4 separate regions of the Homo sapiens genome follow, and all the other regions are linked to region 1. Evidence: promoter capture Hi-C in 16 types of primary human blood cells and fetal thymus (Javierre and others, 2016). All regions are on one chromosome and are shown on one strand. Each heading gives the region's core, a stretch centred on a gene start or on the middle of the fragment in contact. The rest is flanking DNA. Distances are from core to core; before and after follow the strand shown.

What was found. Contacts are between HindIII fragments. The CHiCAGO score rates a contact against its expected background, and 5 or more counts as called.
Region 2: the fragment with the promoter of PHKA1 here is called in contact with the fragment with the promoter of ERCC6L in region 1 in 2 of 17 cell types (megakaryocytes and M0 macrophages); the score reaches 9.6 in megakaryocytes.
Region 3: a fragment that was not itself captured here is called in contact with the fragment with the promoter of ERCC6L in region 1 in 4 of 17 cell types (megakaryocytes, monocytes, fetal thymus and 1 more); the score reaches 6.8 in megakaryocytes.
Region 4: a fragment that was not itself captured here is called in contact with the fragment with the promoter of ERCC6L in region 1 in 1 of 17 cell types (M2 macrophages); the score reaches 5.1 in M2 macrophages.

The regions. Positions count from the first base shown.
Region 1 is chrX:72,237,241-72,240,474 of GRCh38, forward strand. It overlaps ERCC6L (ERCC excision repair 6 like, spindle assembly checkpoint helicase), which reads right to left and starts at 1,787. Exons shown (of 2, transcript NM_017669.4): 1 at 1,604-1,787. The coding sequence starts at 1,671. It also overlaps a transcript of PIN4 not described here. RefSeq lists an enhancer at 1,569-1,718. The HindIII fragment of the contact is 5,695 bases long and covers 1-3,234 here.
Region 2 is chrX:72,712,601-72,715,834 of GRCh38, forward strand. It overlaps PHKA1 (phosphorylase kinase regulatory subunit alpha 1), which reads right to left and starts at 1,706. Exons shown (of 32, transcript NM_002637.4): 1 at 1,203-1,706; 2 at 179-337. The coding sequence starts at 1,280. RefSeq lists enhancers at 1,010-1,994, 1,995-2,983 and a silencer at 1,687-1,836. The HindIII fragment of the contact is 1,799 bases long and covers 517-2,315 here.
Region 3 is chrX:72,577,154-72,580,387 of GRCh38, forward strand. It overlaps PHKA1 (phosphorylase kinase regulatory subunit alpha 1), which reads right to left. Exons shown (of 32, transcript NM_002637.4): 32 at 1,661-3,234. Among named protein-coding and RNA genes, the nearest start is that of HDAC8, 5.9 kb to the left of the region's middle. The HindIII fragment of the contact is 3,710 bases long and covers 1-3,234 here.
Region 4 is chrX:72,519,184-72,522,417 of GRCh38, forward strand. All of the region lies in intron 4 of HDAC8 (histone deacetylase 8), which reads right to left. Among named protein-coding and RNA genes, the nearest start is that of HDAC8, 52 kb to the right of the region's middle. The HindIII fragment of the contact is 6,275 bases long and covers 1-3,234 here.

The DNA.
Region 1 (3,234 bases), core at 537-3,036:
AATCTCAACACTTTGGGAGGCCGAGGCAGGAGGATTGCTTGAACTCAGGAGTTTGAGACCAGCCTGGGCAACATGGCGAGACCCTGTCTCTACTAAAAACACAAAAAAAATACTTTGGGAGGCCGAGGCGGGCGGATCACGAGGTCAGGAGATTGAGACCATCCCGGCTAACACGGTGAAACCCCGTCTCTACCAAAAATACAAAAAATTAGCCGGGTGTGTTAGCGGGCGCCTGTAGTCCCAGCTACTCGGGAGGCTGAGGCAGGAGAATGGCGTGAACCCGGAAGGCGGAGCTTGCTGTGAGCCCAGACCGCGCCACTGCACTCCAGCCTGGGTGACAGAGCGAGACTGTATCAAAAAAAGAAAAAAAAAAAATAGCTGGGTGTGGTGGTGTGCGCCTGTGGTCCCAGCTACTCCGGAAACAGGTGGGAGGATCGCATGAGCCCCGGGGGATGGAAGTTGCAGTGAGCTGAGTTAGAGATCGCGCCACTGCACTCCAGCCTGGGTGACAGAGCCAGACCCTGTCTCTAAAAATATATATAAAACAACAATAGTAAAATAATAAATTGGCTGGACATGGTGGCACCCACCTTAAGTCCCAGCTACTAGGGAGGCTGGGGCAGGAGGACTGCTTGAGCCCAGGAGTTCGAGGCTGCAGTGAACTATGATCAGGCCACTGAATTCCAGTCTGGGCGACACAGCAAGACCCTGTCTCAAAAAAAATTAAAGCAGTAAAATTCACAGAGACAGAATAATGGTTGCTAGGGGCTGAAGGGAGGGGGAAATGGGGAGTTTGTTTAATGGGAGTAGTTTCAGTTTTGCCACATGAGAAAAGTTCTGGAGATGACGGACGGCTGCACAACAATATGAATGTAGTCAACACTACTGAACTGTACATTTAAAAATGGTTAGGATGATAAACTTTATTTTTCATAAAACCCAGTTTCTGCACAAAAAGATAAAATTTATGTTATGTGTACTTTACCACAATTTAAGAAAAAATTTAAATTCTCATCCCAACATTACCACGCCCCCCACCCTTAGCCAACTGGTGAATGTTTACTCATTTTTCAACGCCTAGCTCAAATGTCTCCTCTTGCCACGCCATCCCTTAGCTGACCACCCTTGTAGTTGGCCATTCCCTCTTTTATGCCAACACTGTGCCCTGCACGTACATTATACCTCTTACAGCACTTATCAAACCTAGTAATTATTGCTTTACAGATCCGTTTCCACTACTAGATTACAAACAATTTGGGGGCGGGGACCTTGTTTTACTCATCTCTGTATCCCCTAGACTTAGGGCTTGATAAGCTGAAAAGAATCAAGAAGGGCTTGATTAATTAAGGCTCCTCTGGCTTTTAAGGAGACCATACTGGAGGGTCATTTGCCCAAAAGAAGAGGCATCGGGGTCTCCTCAGGTTTTAGAAATCTGGTCAAACATCCAGAGCTGACTCCCACACCCTACTGCGAGAAGAGCGCGAGCGCGCGTCTCAAAAGGCTCCGCCTCAACAGTTCGGGTCCCCAGGAGGATCCGGGGGCCACCCCACCTCCACCCTGGGCCAGGTCGGTTAGCTAGACCCGCCCAGCGGTCCAGACATACCTTAGGTAATGAGCAGCCTGCTCTGGGCTCAAGGCCTCGGCTTCCGGAAACCTTCGGGATGCCTCCATGACCCTCGGATTGGGTTCCAGTTACCCCGGCGGGAGTTTGGAGCTTGGAGCTTGGAGCTTGGAGCTTGGAGCTTAGAGTTTGGAGCTTGAATTTCGCTCACTCCCGCCCCGCGCATGCTCTGTGCGCCGTGGAGAGGGACACAGCCAACCGACGGCCTCGCGGCCGGCCAATCCGCGACCACGCGCTGCGACGCCTCCGCCTGAGCCCCGCCCATGACGGTGGGCGCCTGCGCCTACGCGCGCCGGGAAGCAGAAGGTGATCTCTGCCTTCGAGACACGGAGTGTGCTGCCTCAGTCTGTGATCCCTCGCGTTTCAATCCAATTCAAACCATGCTGCAGCCAATTCGTTCGCGCGTGCGTGTGCCATCATTGTGAGTGGAGGAGACTGCCCGATATGATCCCAGTCATTGCGGCGACCCCTGGAGATCTCCAACGCCTGCGTCCCCCAACCATACCCTGCCCCGCATCCACAGATATCTTCCCTTCCTTGATCGCCAGTACCTGGCACTGACCGTGCTTTGAATTCAAACACCCTGGGAGGCATAGTCCCTGTGATTTAAACTAACATTGAAGAAGCGACCAGACGCGGTGGTTCACGCCTGTAATCCCAGCACTTTGGGAGACCGGGGCGGGCGGATCACGTGAGGTCAGGAGTTCGAGACCAACCTGGCTAAAATGGTGACACCCCGTCTCTACTAAAAATACAAAAAATTAGCCGGGCGTGGTGGCGGGCGCCCGCAGTCCCAGCTACTCGGGTGGCTGAGGCACGAGAATCGCTTGGACCCAGGAGGTGGAGGTTGCAGTGAGCCGGGATTGCACCACTGCACTCCAGCCTGGGTGGCAAAGCGAGACTCCATCTCAAAAAAAAAAAAAAAAAAAAAAAAGGCTGGGTGCAGTGCCTCACGCCTGTTATCCTAGCCTTTTGGGAGGCTAAGGTGGGAGGATCACTTGCACTTAGGAGTTCGAGACCAGCCTGGGCAACATGGTGAGACTCCCGTCTCTTTAAAAAAAATTTTTTTCTTCTCCACAGGGCGTTATGCTGTATTTATTTTCTTAAAAAGAGAGAGAGAAAGAGAGAAGGGTCTTCAAGAATCTCAAACCCTGGAGGTGGAGGCTGCAGTGAGCCAAGATCATGCCACTGCACTCCAGCCTGGGTGACAGAGAAAGACTCCATCTCAAAAAAAAAAAAAAAATTAAAGTTCTTATTTAAGAAATAAGTAACTAGGTTCACATACTTGGTATAATAAAAGGAAGACAAAAATAATTTAAAAAAAAAGAAGTAGTGCTGTGGTCATCATTTCTTCAGAAGCACCAACTAAGATACAGTCATTTTCAAATGCAGAGCCTAAAAAGAAGGCAGAGCCTAGAGCTTAAGGAAATGTGATTGAGTTTAAGTGGCTTGCTTGGGTGACACTAAATAGGAGGTTGTGGGCCAACAAAAATTGTCCTTGTTCATATACTGTTAAGAACACAGACATGACTCCTCAAGACACTAATTTAGCATTCAGTATTGGAAAACTCACCTATTGGCCCAGTCATACATCATATGTCCAGAGAATTTTA
Region 2 (3,234 bases), core at 456-2,955, 480 kb after region 1:
CTTCAGTACAATACAGGAAAGCTTTCTGGAATATAATTTCAGAAAGATGATGAAAGAGGGAAAGGCAAAATACAGTTCTCTTAGCTTTTGGTGGGTTTCACTTCCTTCAGTCCCCACTCTGCCCCCAACCCCCAATCACACATAGCTCCAGATCTCTTTGTATTTTTATTTTGAGTACCTGCTCCAATTCATAGGCCTTTGCCTTATCCTCATCCCGGTCTGCATTCTTCCGATAGGCCAGGCCCAAACCCCACACAGCCAAGATGCTGTACACATTATCTCGGACCCAAGCATCTTTCTGATCATAGCTGGCTGGAAGCAAGCCAGTCACTGGATTCTGCAAGGTCAAGAAAAAGAGGGCAGGAAGGTAACCATAGGTGTTAACATCAGGAAACAGAATCTTCCAAATGGGTTTTTTAGGGACTTTGGTCTTTCTTCTACTTCTCCACTCTTGAGTTTTATAACCTCCTCTTCTTCTGACCTATTGCAGGCAAATGCTATCTTCCCACCTTCCCAAGCTTTACTGAGCTATATTCAACACATTAAAAATTGTGTATATTTAGGGAGTACAACATGATGATTTATGTATTCATTGGAAAATTACCAAAATGACGTTTATTAACACATCTATTACCTCACAGCTACCTTTTTTTTTGGTGTGGTGAGAATACTTAAGATCTACTCTCTTAGTAAATTTCAAGTATACAGTACAGTATGATTAACTACAGTCACCATGCTGCTGTACATCAGATCCCCAGAACTTACTCATCTTATAACTGAAACTTTGTGCCCTTTGCAAATACTATCTTGAATAAGGGGTAAGCGGTGGCTGAAGCCTTTCGAGTCTGAAATGTGGGTATTATTAAAGGCACAATTAAAGGTATTATTAAGTGCATTTATAATGGGTATTATTAAAAGAAAGTTTTACCTTTCTAGTTAGAATGAACTAGCGAACTAGCAATGAAAAACCAGCAGAAAAAATATATAATTAACAGGGGCGGGAGAACCTGCTACAGACAGATACAGATACACACACAAACACACACGCGGAGTTCATGCAAGGTCTCCGTCACACACACACACACACACACACACACACACCCACACACGCACGCACGCACGGAGTTCATCCAAGGTCTCCGTCCAAGCTATGACAAGCTACATCCTCGCTCGGTGATTACGAGAGACACCCCTGCAGTTACCTGATGGCACAGGATGGTCTGTTGCACCAGTCGAGCGTAGCCGTCCAGCCGGACCCCGGAGTTACTCCGGCTCCTCATGGCGACACGTTACTAATTGTCCTCTGAGAAATAGCCCGGGTGCCACCGGAGCCTTCGGTCCCTAAGGAACAAGTATCCAACGCTGCTCCACCCTCGTGGTGGGACGCCTGAACACCAGGCCCCGCAGAGCCCTCCCACCGCTCAGGCCTGGCGCCGCGGATTCCGCGTACCTCTCCGGACTCCGGCGGCCTCAGGGGCCCACCACGCGCCAGCGCTAGCACTGGCTTCCCGCGGTCTAGAGCCCCGCCGCAGCGCCCCAGGCGCCGCTCCTGCCCCCTTAGTCCAGTCCGGCCTCCGCGTGTGACTCCTGCATCCTCCCCTCAACCCCGGGAGACCGCCGCGGCCCACAGCCTCCCGCCCGGCCGCCGCCAACAGGTCAACGACCGCTGCGCCGCCTCCACCTTGCGGGAGACGCGAGCGGGAGGCGGGGCGGGCGCGACTGGTTCTGGCAGCTGCGCGCTGCGACCCCGGGGCTCGCCCGCCCCGGGGCCGAGAATGTGTCACCGTAGGCAATGTGCTTTCCGAGGTTTATTTTCGAAACACCTCAGATCACTATTTCAGTTTTCCACACTTGCTGTGCACACAGGATGTTGGGGAGGCTCTCCTTCGTTCTACAGGACTAGTTTTATAAAGGAACCTACAGTGAACTTCAAAACTGAAAGACACGCTTGTGTTCCAGGTCTGAAGACTTGGATTTCTGGGTCTTTATTGTATTTTAGATTTTGACTTTAAAAGCTCAGATTACACGCCTCACTTCCAGCCAGACCAACCAAACAGGAACTCCCTAGGGTACTTTACTCCTTAGTAACTGGCGAGTCTGCGGGCTTGGGAGGGAGGAGGCAGTGGTGCACTCTGAGGAAGCCAGTGCGGGGAACAGCTGGGAGCTGGCAGCCCCAGAAGGCGGCGTTGGCAGGACTCGAGCTGGAAGAGATCCTATAACTGCTTTGGATGGCTCCCTCGTGCGCACGTAGGTCACAAGGCTGAGGCAACAAATATTCAGCTGAAAATAAAGTGGAGAAGGAAGGCTGCGTAAGAAGCTTGGAGGCCGGGCGCGGTGGCTCACTCCTGTAATCCCAGCACTTTGGGAGGCTGAGGAGGGCAGATCACCTGAAGTCAAGAGTCCGAGACCAGCCTGGCCAACATGGCGGAACCCCATCTCTACTAAAAATACAAAATTAGCCCGGCATGGTGGCGCGCGCCTGTAATCCCAGCTACTCGGGAGGCTGAGGCGGGAAAATCGCTTGAACCCAGGAGGCAGAGGTTGCAGTGAGCCAAGATCGTGCCACTGCACTCTAGCCCAGGCGACAGAGTAAGACTCCGTCTCAAAAAAAATAAAATAAAAATAAAATAATAAAAGCAGCTTGTAGTGGCCGGGTGCGGTGGCTCACGCCTGTAATCCCAGCACTTTGGGAGCCTGAAGTGGGCGGATCACTTGAGGTCAGGAGTTCAAGACCAGCCTGGCCAACATGGAGGAAACCCCCCCCCCCGCTTCCCCCGCCGCCGATACAAATACAAAAATTAGCCGGGCGTGGTGGGGCGCTCCTGTAGTCCCAGCTACTCGGGAAGCTGAGGCAGGATAATCGCTTGAACCCTGGAAGTGGAGGTTGCAGTGAGCCAAGATCGCGTCACTGCACTCCAGCCTGGGAGACAAGAGCGAAACTCCGTTTCAAAAAAAGAAAAAAAAAAGGCAGCAGCTTGCAGATAACGCTGCTTACTGGCCTCGTGGAATCAGTCTGCAACCCTTGGGGCGGCCCGGCTTGGACCCCAGTGCCTTTGCTCCGTTCATCTCCGGCTCCTCCCTCCATCCCCCACCTGTTGCTCTCTGCTTATTCAAACCTTGCAAACCTTTCAAGGCTCTGCTTAAGTACCACCTATTCCCTGAATCGCGGGATAAGAAAATTAGACCGATTGACTTCAAGTTCTAAACCTTCCTTAGCCACCTCATCCAGGCCAC
Region 3 (3,234 bases), core at 367-2,866, 340 kb after region 1:
CAACTGACCCTTGTCACACCACCCCCTTAATGTCATTTTCCTTGGAGAGTGTCATTGTTGAGAATGTGATCGCTAGCGTCAGACTGCATGGGTTCAACTTCCAGCTCTATCACTTATTAGATGATTGATTTGGGGCAATTTACTTAAACCCTCAGTGCCTCAGGTAGCTTACTTGTAAGATGGCAGTATCTATCTTACATGGCAATTGTGAAGATAAAATGGCTCACGCTAAGTGCCTATATAACAATGGCATTTGGTATGTGCTCAAATATTGGTTATTTAAGAGCCATTATGCCAAATATTTCTATATTTGGTGGGGAAGGGAGTTTCCCCCTACTGTCATCCTTACCCCCATACCACTACTGCACAAGTACTACTAGTGGTTTGAGAATAAGTTCTTGGTTTTTTGGCTTAGCCTTAAAAGAAATCACACATCTGCTAAATATAGGGTGACCATATCTTTCAAACTGAGACATTTTTTGAGAGTGACACAGTGCTATTGATAATTATGCCAGTAAAACAGGCATAAATGGGGGCTGCCCTGGACAAACCAACACCTGAGGTTACTCAAGTTAAAAAGGAAATGAATGTCTACCAAATATAAGAATAAAAATTGATGGCTGTATTTTTTTAAAATTAAATAAATAAAAAGGAAATGAAGACTACATGTGGAAAATAATCTCCACTGCATTAGTGCAGACACTAGGTACTTGGTAAGTAGAAAAAGGAATGGCAGAGGTTTTGCCAGCTGTGGTGAAGAACAACTTTTGCCCCACCAGTTGTGTAAGATTCCCAGAATGTAGTAAAATTTCATTAACCAGGATGGAACTGTAGAGACAATGTTCATCCTTGCTGGATAAATCCTGTTATAGAAAAGGCTAATGAATAGTATAAACAAACAAGATTCTGCCAAATATTTTTAATATTTAGAAAAACAAGTTGTTTTAAAATACCCTTCATTAGGGAAGAAGCACCATTTGTACACAATTGAAAGGCTGAGTAAAAATGTTTTACTCATTCATCAGAAAATGTTCCCTACAGGCCAGGCGCGGTGGCTCACGAGTGTAATCCCAGCACTTTGGGAGGCTGAGGCAGGCGGATCACCTGAGATCAGGAGTTTGAGACCAGACTGGCCAACATGGTGAAACCCCGTCTCTACTAGAAATACAAAAAAAATTAGCTGGGTGTGGTGGCGCATGCCTGTAATCCCAGCTACTCGGGAGGCTGAGACAGGAGAATCGCTTGAATCCGGGAGGCAGCGGTTGCAGTGAGCCGAGATCACCCCACTGCACTCCAGCCTGGGCGATAGAGCAAGACTCCGTCTTAAAAAAAAAAAAAAAGAAAAGAAAAGAAAAGAAAAGAAAAGAAAAGAAAAGAAAAGAAAAGAAAAGAAAAGAAAAGAAAATGTTCCCTACAGATGTCAATAAGCCCGCTTGAATTTAGTAAGCCTTGTTTGAGTGGGTATGTATTTGAATGATTAAACTGCATTTCTTTACATATATTATCTAACATATTATGAAATGTATAATATATTATATATGTATTAATATATTAATATTATTCTACTTCAACCCAATGAATGAGCTTTGACTGTACTGTATAATTAAGCAGAGTATGTAGAATAAAGCCATGAAATAAACTCCAATCACAAAAACACATGTGAAGTTTTGCACATTGGCACCAGACATGATTTAATTGGAAATTCTTATTATTTATTCTATTTTCAAAACATAAGTGCTTTTTTAAAAAAAGTCTAACATGTCTTTTTAGTACCACACACTTAAAATGAACAAAAAACAAGTCGAGTTTTCTTAAAAGTTGCTTTAAAAGTTAAATACCACTGTATGGGGACCATAATGACACAATTTCGTAAACTCAGAGAAATGCAGCCCTTCGAGTAAGTTCAGGCAAATGAGTGTGGGAAGGAGTGGATCTTTTGCCTGTGGCACTACAGATATACTCCCTGAGATTGGGGTACACTTACAACCAGTGAAAAGACAAATAGTTTCAGAACAGGTTGTAAACTTTCTTTAAAAGTGACCAGAAAATAATGTAGTCAGAAAGCTACTTACTGTGTGTTTCCATTTGCTCTGAGAGAAGTGCTGAAAAGGTTTGCTGTCCTCTCTTTGTTTCTACTATCTGTATTCTATCACCCTACTATATGCTTACTTATTCATTATATTCATAAGATTGTCACTGGTTCTGCAAGAATTGTTCAGAGAGTCTCTCATCCCCACCCTCACCATTCCCAATATTGGGGAAAAACTTTAGAAATCCAAGATAAAGGAGGGGGTTGAAGTAGGAAGTTATCTAAGTGCAAAAAGGGAAGTTAACAGAGTCTCTGCACAATTCAGAAGAAGGAGAGTTAGAAGAAACATTTGTCAAGCAAGGCTACCTACATATGGGATGAAGGAAGAGGACTGAAGCTATTCTTCCACCAATCTGTGTGTGTCAATCTGAGTCCACAGTCACATCCCTTCTCTCACATGCAACATTCTTACTCAGTCCATCAAATGTAGATACAGATTGATATACAGACACATCAAAACTGCTTACATTCAGAAAAATTCCCATGTATGCTTATACACACACACACACACACACACACATACACACACAAATATGTGTCTTTATAAGAAACAGACATATGCCCACAGATACCATGATATACAGGGATATGTACACTAGAATTAGGAAGTGAAAATATATATGAAAGAGTTTAAGAATAGATGGGGGGATAGGGTGTCAGGGAGTTGAGTTGGATGTAGTAGAAAGTAGGTGAGTGAGACAGAGACCAGGAGCACATGAAAAGAATGCTAAGTAGAGCACCTATAGACTGGACTGCTGTATTTATCTTTGCTGAATACAGACGCTTCAAATTATTGTCTGTGTTGTGTATTGGCCCATTTTTCAAAGGCAGGGATTAAGCGCATAAGGCTGTCTTCAGGGAACTAAGCCACCTCTGATTCCCTCTCTGTTCCCTATGTATAAGACATTGTCCAGGCATCGTCTCTTCTTTCCCTTCCTCTCTGGAATTGGGCTCCGGGCTCCATTTCTGGGTTATTCTGCATTTTCTGCTGCAAATACAACTCTGAGTACCAACAATCTTTATAAAATGTGATTTCAAGTGTTAGTTCAGAAATTCTTAAATATGCATGCTGTACTTGCATTTTTTTGATATTTCACCAAAGTGAGAGAGGCATTATGTGTGCAGACACAGAGAGGGCAACAGTA
Region 4 (3,234 bases), core at 198-2,697, 280 kb after region 1:
TCACATTTTGTTTATACATCCACTAGTTGATGGTCATTTGGGTTGTTCCACTTTTTGGCTATAATGAATAGAGCTGCTATGAACATTTATGTGCAAGTCTTTGTGCAGAGGTATGTTTTCACTGGGTAGATACCTAGGAGTGGAACTGCTGGGATATATGATAAATTTATGTTTAACTTCTTAAGAAACTGTCAGATTGTTTTCCAAAGTAGCCGTACCATTCTACATTCCCACCAGCAATGTATGAGGGTTCCTATTTCTCAACATCCTTGCCAACACTTATTGTCTATCTTTTTGATTACAGCTATTCTAGTGGATGAGTAATGGTATCTCATGGTAGTTTTCATTTGTGATTTCCTACTGATTAATGATACTGAGCATCTTCTCATTTGCCTATTAGGCCATTTATAAATTTTCTTTTTTTGAGATAGGGTCTCACTTTGTCACCCAGGCTGTAGTGTAGTGGCACGAACATGGCTTACTGCAGCCTCAACCTCCCGGGCTCAAGTGATCCTCCTGCCTTAGCCCCTCAAGTAGCTGGGACTACAGGAATGTGCCACCACACCCAGCTAAGTTTTGTATTTTTTGTAGAGATGGGGTTTCACCACGTTGCCCAAGCTGGTCTTGAACTCCTGAGCTCAAGTAATCCATCTGCCTCAGCCTCCCAAAGTGCCGGAATATACAGGCCAGGCTTCAGTGAGCAGCTGCACCTGGCCCATATATTTTCTTTGACAAAGTATTTATTAAAATATTTTGCCCATTTTTAAATTGGGTTGTCTGTCTATTATTCAATTGTAACAGTATATTCTGGATACAAGACTTTTATCATATATGAAATTTGCAAACATTTTTTCCTAGTCTGTAGCTTGTCTTTTAATTTTCAAAGATTGTCTTTTGAAGGGCAAGTTTTAAATTTTGATGAAGTTCAATTTATCAAATGTTTGTTTTATGGACCATGCTTTTGTTGTTATATGTATTAAATCTTTGCCTAACCAGCGTCTCAAAAATCTCCTATGTTTGTTTTTCTAAAAGTTTTTTTAGTTTTACCTCTTACATTTAGGTCTCTTTTCCATTTTGAGTTAATTTTTGTTTATGGTATTGAGGTAATGGTCTAATTTCATCATTTTGCATCTGCATATCCAATTGTCCCAGCATCATTTGCTGAAACTCATCATACATTTCATAGGCTTTAAAAGAACTGTTTTTTCCAACTTTTTATTTTGAAAAATTTCAAACTTATGGAAGAGTTGAAAGAATAGTATGACAAGCAATCATATACCTTTTTGCCTAGATTCACCAATTGTCATAATTTTCCACATTTCTGTCTCTCTCTCACACACACTTTTTGCTGAGCCATTTGAAAGTAAGCTACAAATATGATGACATTTCACTCCTAAACACTTCATCATGCATCTCCTAAGAAAAAGACTTCTACATTATCATGCCTAAGAAAATCAACATCAATTCAAGAATATCATCTAATATAGTCTGTAAATTTCCCAAATCATTCCAAAAATGTCTTTAATAATTGTTTAAGATTTCTCTCCAATTCAGAATCCATTCAAGGTTGACACATTGTATTTGAGTTCATTGTTTTCTAAAATCCAGAACAATTCCTCCACCTTCTTTTGTTTTTCATGATAATGGCTTTCTGAAGAGTCCAGGCTAGTTCACTTGTTGGATATCCCACACTCTAGGTTCATCTAATTGTTTCTTCATAAACATTTCTGGCAAGAATATTTCATAAATGATGCTTTGTACTTCATCTGAGATCACATCAGAAAGCACGATGTCAGCTTGTCCTGCTACTGACAATGCTGAGTTTAATAACTTGTTTAACCTGGTGACTGCCAGATTTTCCTATTGTAAATGTGCATTTTCCTCTTTGTAATTAGCAAGGAATCTGTGGGGTGATAATTTGAAACTGTGTGAATATCCTGTTCTCAAGGACCTTTCTGCTCAAAGGTTTTAGCATCCATCTGATGATCTTTGCCAAAATCAATTATTGTACTGGGGGGCTGCAAAACAGTGATTTTTTTTTTAGTCTACCTTCTACATTTATTAGCTGCTGTTCTGCTCTAAAGTAGGTCTTTCTCCCTTTTTCCCCCTCTCTCTCGCTGTCTTTGGAGTAGCACTATAGACTATGCTATAATCCATTTCCTTCAATCTTTTCATAATTTCTTTAAAAATTATATATTTCTTAGGTTGGTCTACAGAAAAGGCAAGCAATGCATGCCAGTGGCAATGAGCATACCCAGTACCTAGATTTTGGTACTGAAATGCCATTCCCTACTAAAAGGAACCAGGATTTCTGAGAGAAACGGCTGATTCCAGGGCTGGAGCAGGGATAGTTCAGAAAACCAGGGAAACCTTGTTCACCAGAAATTAAAGGTGCTGAAAAACTGATGGGGTCATGTCACAAACACATAGGAGCCAGCTCAAAGGCCAAATTTGGGATAATTTGAGCACTAAAAACAAGTGCTTTTAAAATTACCCATATTTACTATAATTCTTCTTTTCTCTCTATCTGTCTCTGTCTCTCTCTCCCCTGCCTTTATTTCCTTATTGTTCATTTGCTCCTCAGCCTGTTCTTTTTACACCACTGTAAATATGGCAGTAATCTTTGATTGCCAAATCCAACAGACCCATTCTCGGTCCTCAACATACTCAACTTCATTGTTGCTAATAACCACTTGCGCTCTCATGCTGGGCTAGCTTCTCTTCTCATCCAATCAGAGACAAATAATCCATACCCAGGTTCATGGCTTGCCACGGCCTTCCCAGAACAAGCAGAAAAAGAACTTAAAATTATAGAAGAGGGAGACTCAGGTTCGAGAAGGATTGAGGCATTTGTGCTAGTGGCCACATTTTATCCGTCTCCCTATTTTCAGGGCTTACCCAGTGGGTGAAACCCAACAGGCACACACAAATGTGGCTCACTCTCTGACACCTGGGGTAAGCCACTAAACCTCTCTGAACCTCAGGTTCTCCATATATACAGTGGTAATGATAATAACACCAACACGAAGGAAGGGTTGTTTCAAGAACTTTCACGTGCATGCATACTTTGAACTCTAAAGATTATTCAAAAGTAAGAAATGAAAAAGTTTGTAACATTATCTCTGTTTGGTATTTCTTTCCACTCCTTCAAATTAAACTTGCCTTGACTCTACATCTCCCTCAAGCAATTGCCCATGTCTTTCCTTCTGTTGACTACAAAATGCCTTGCTTTCT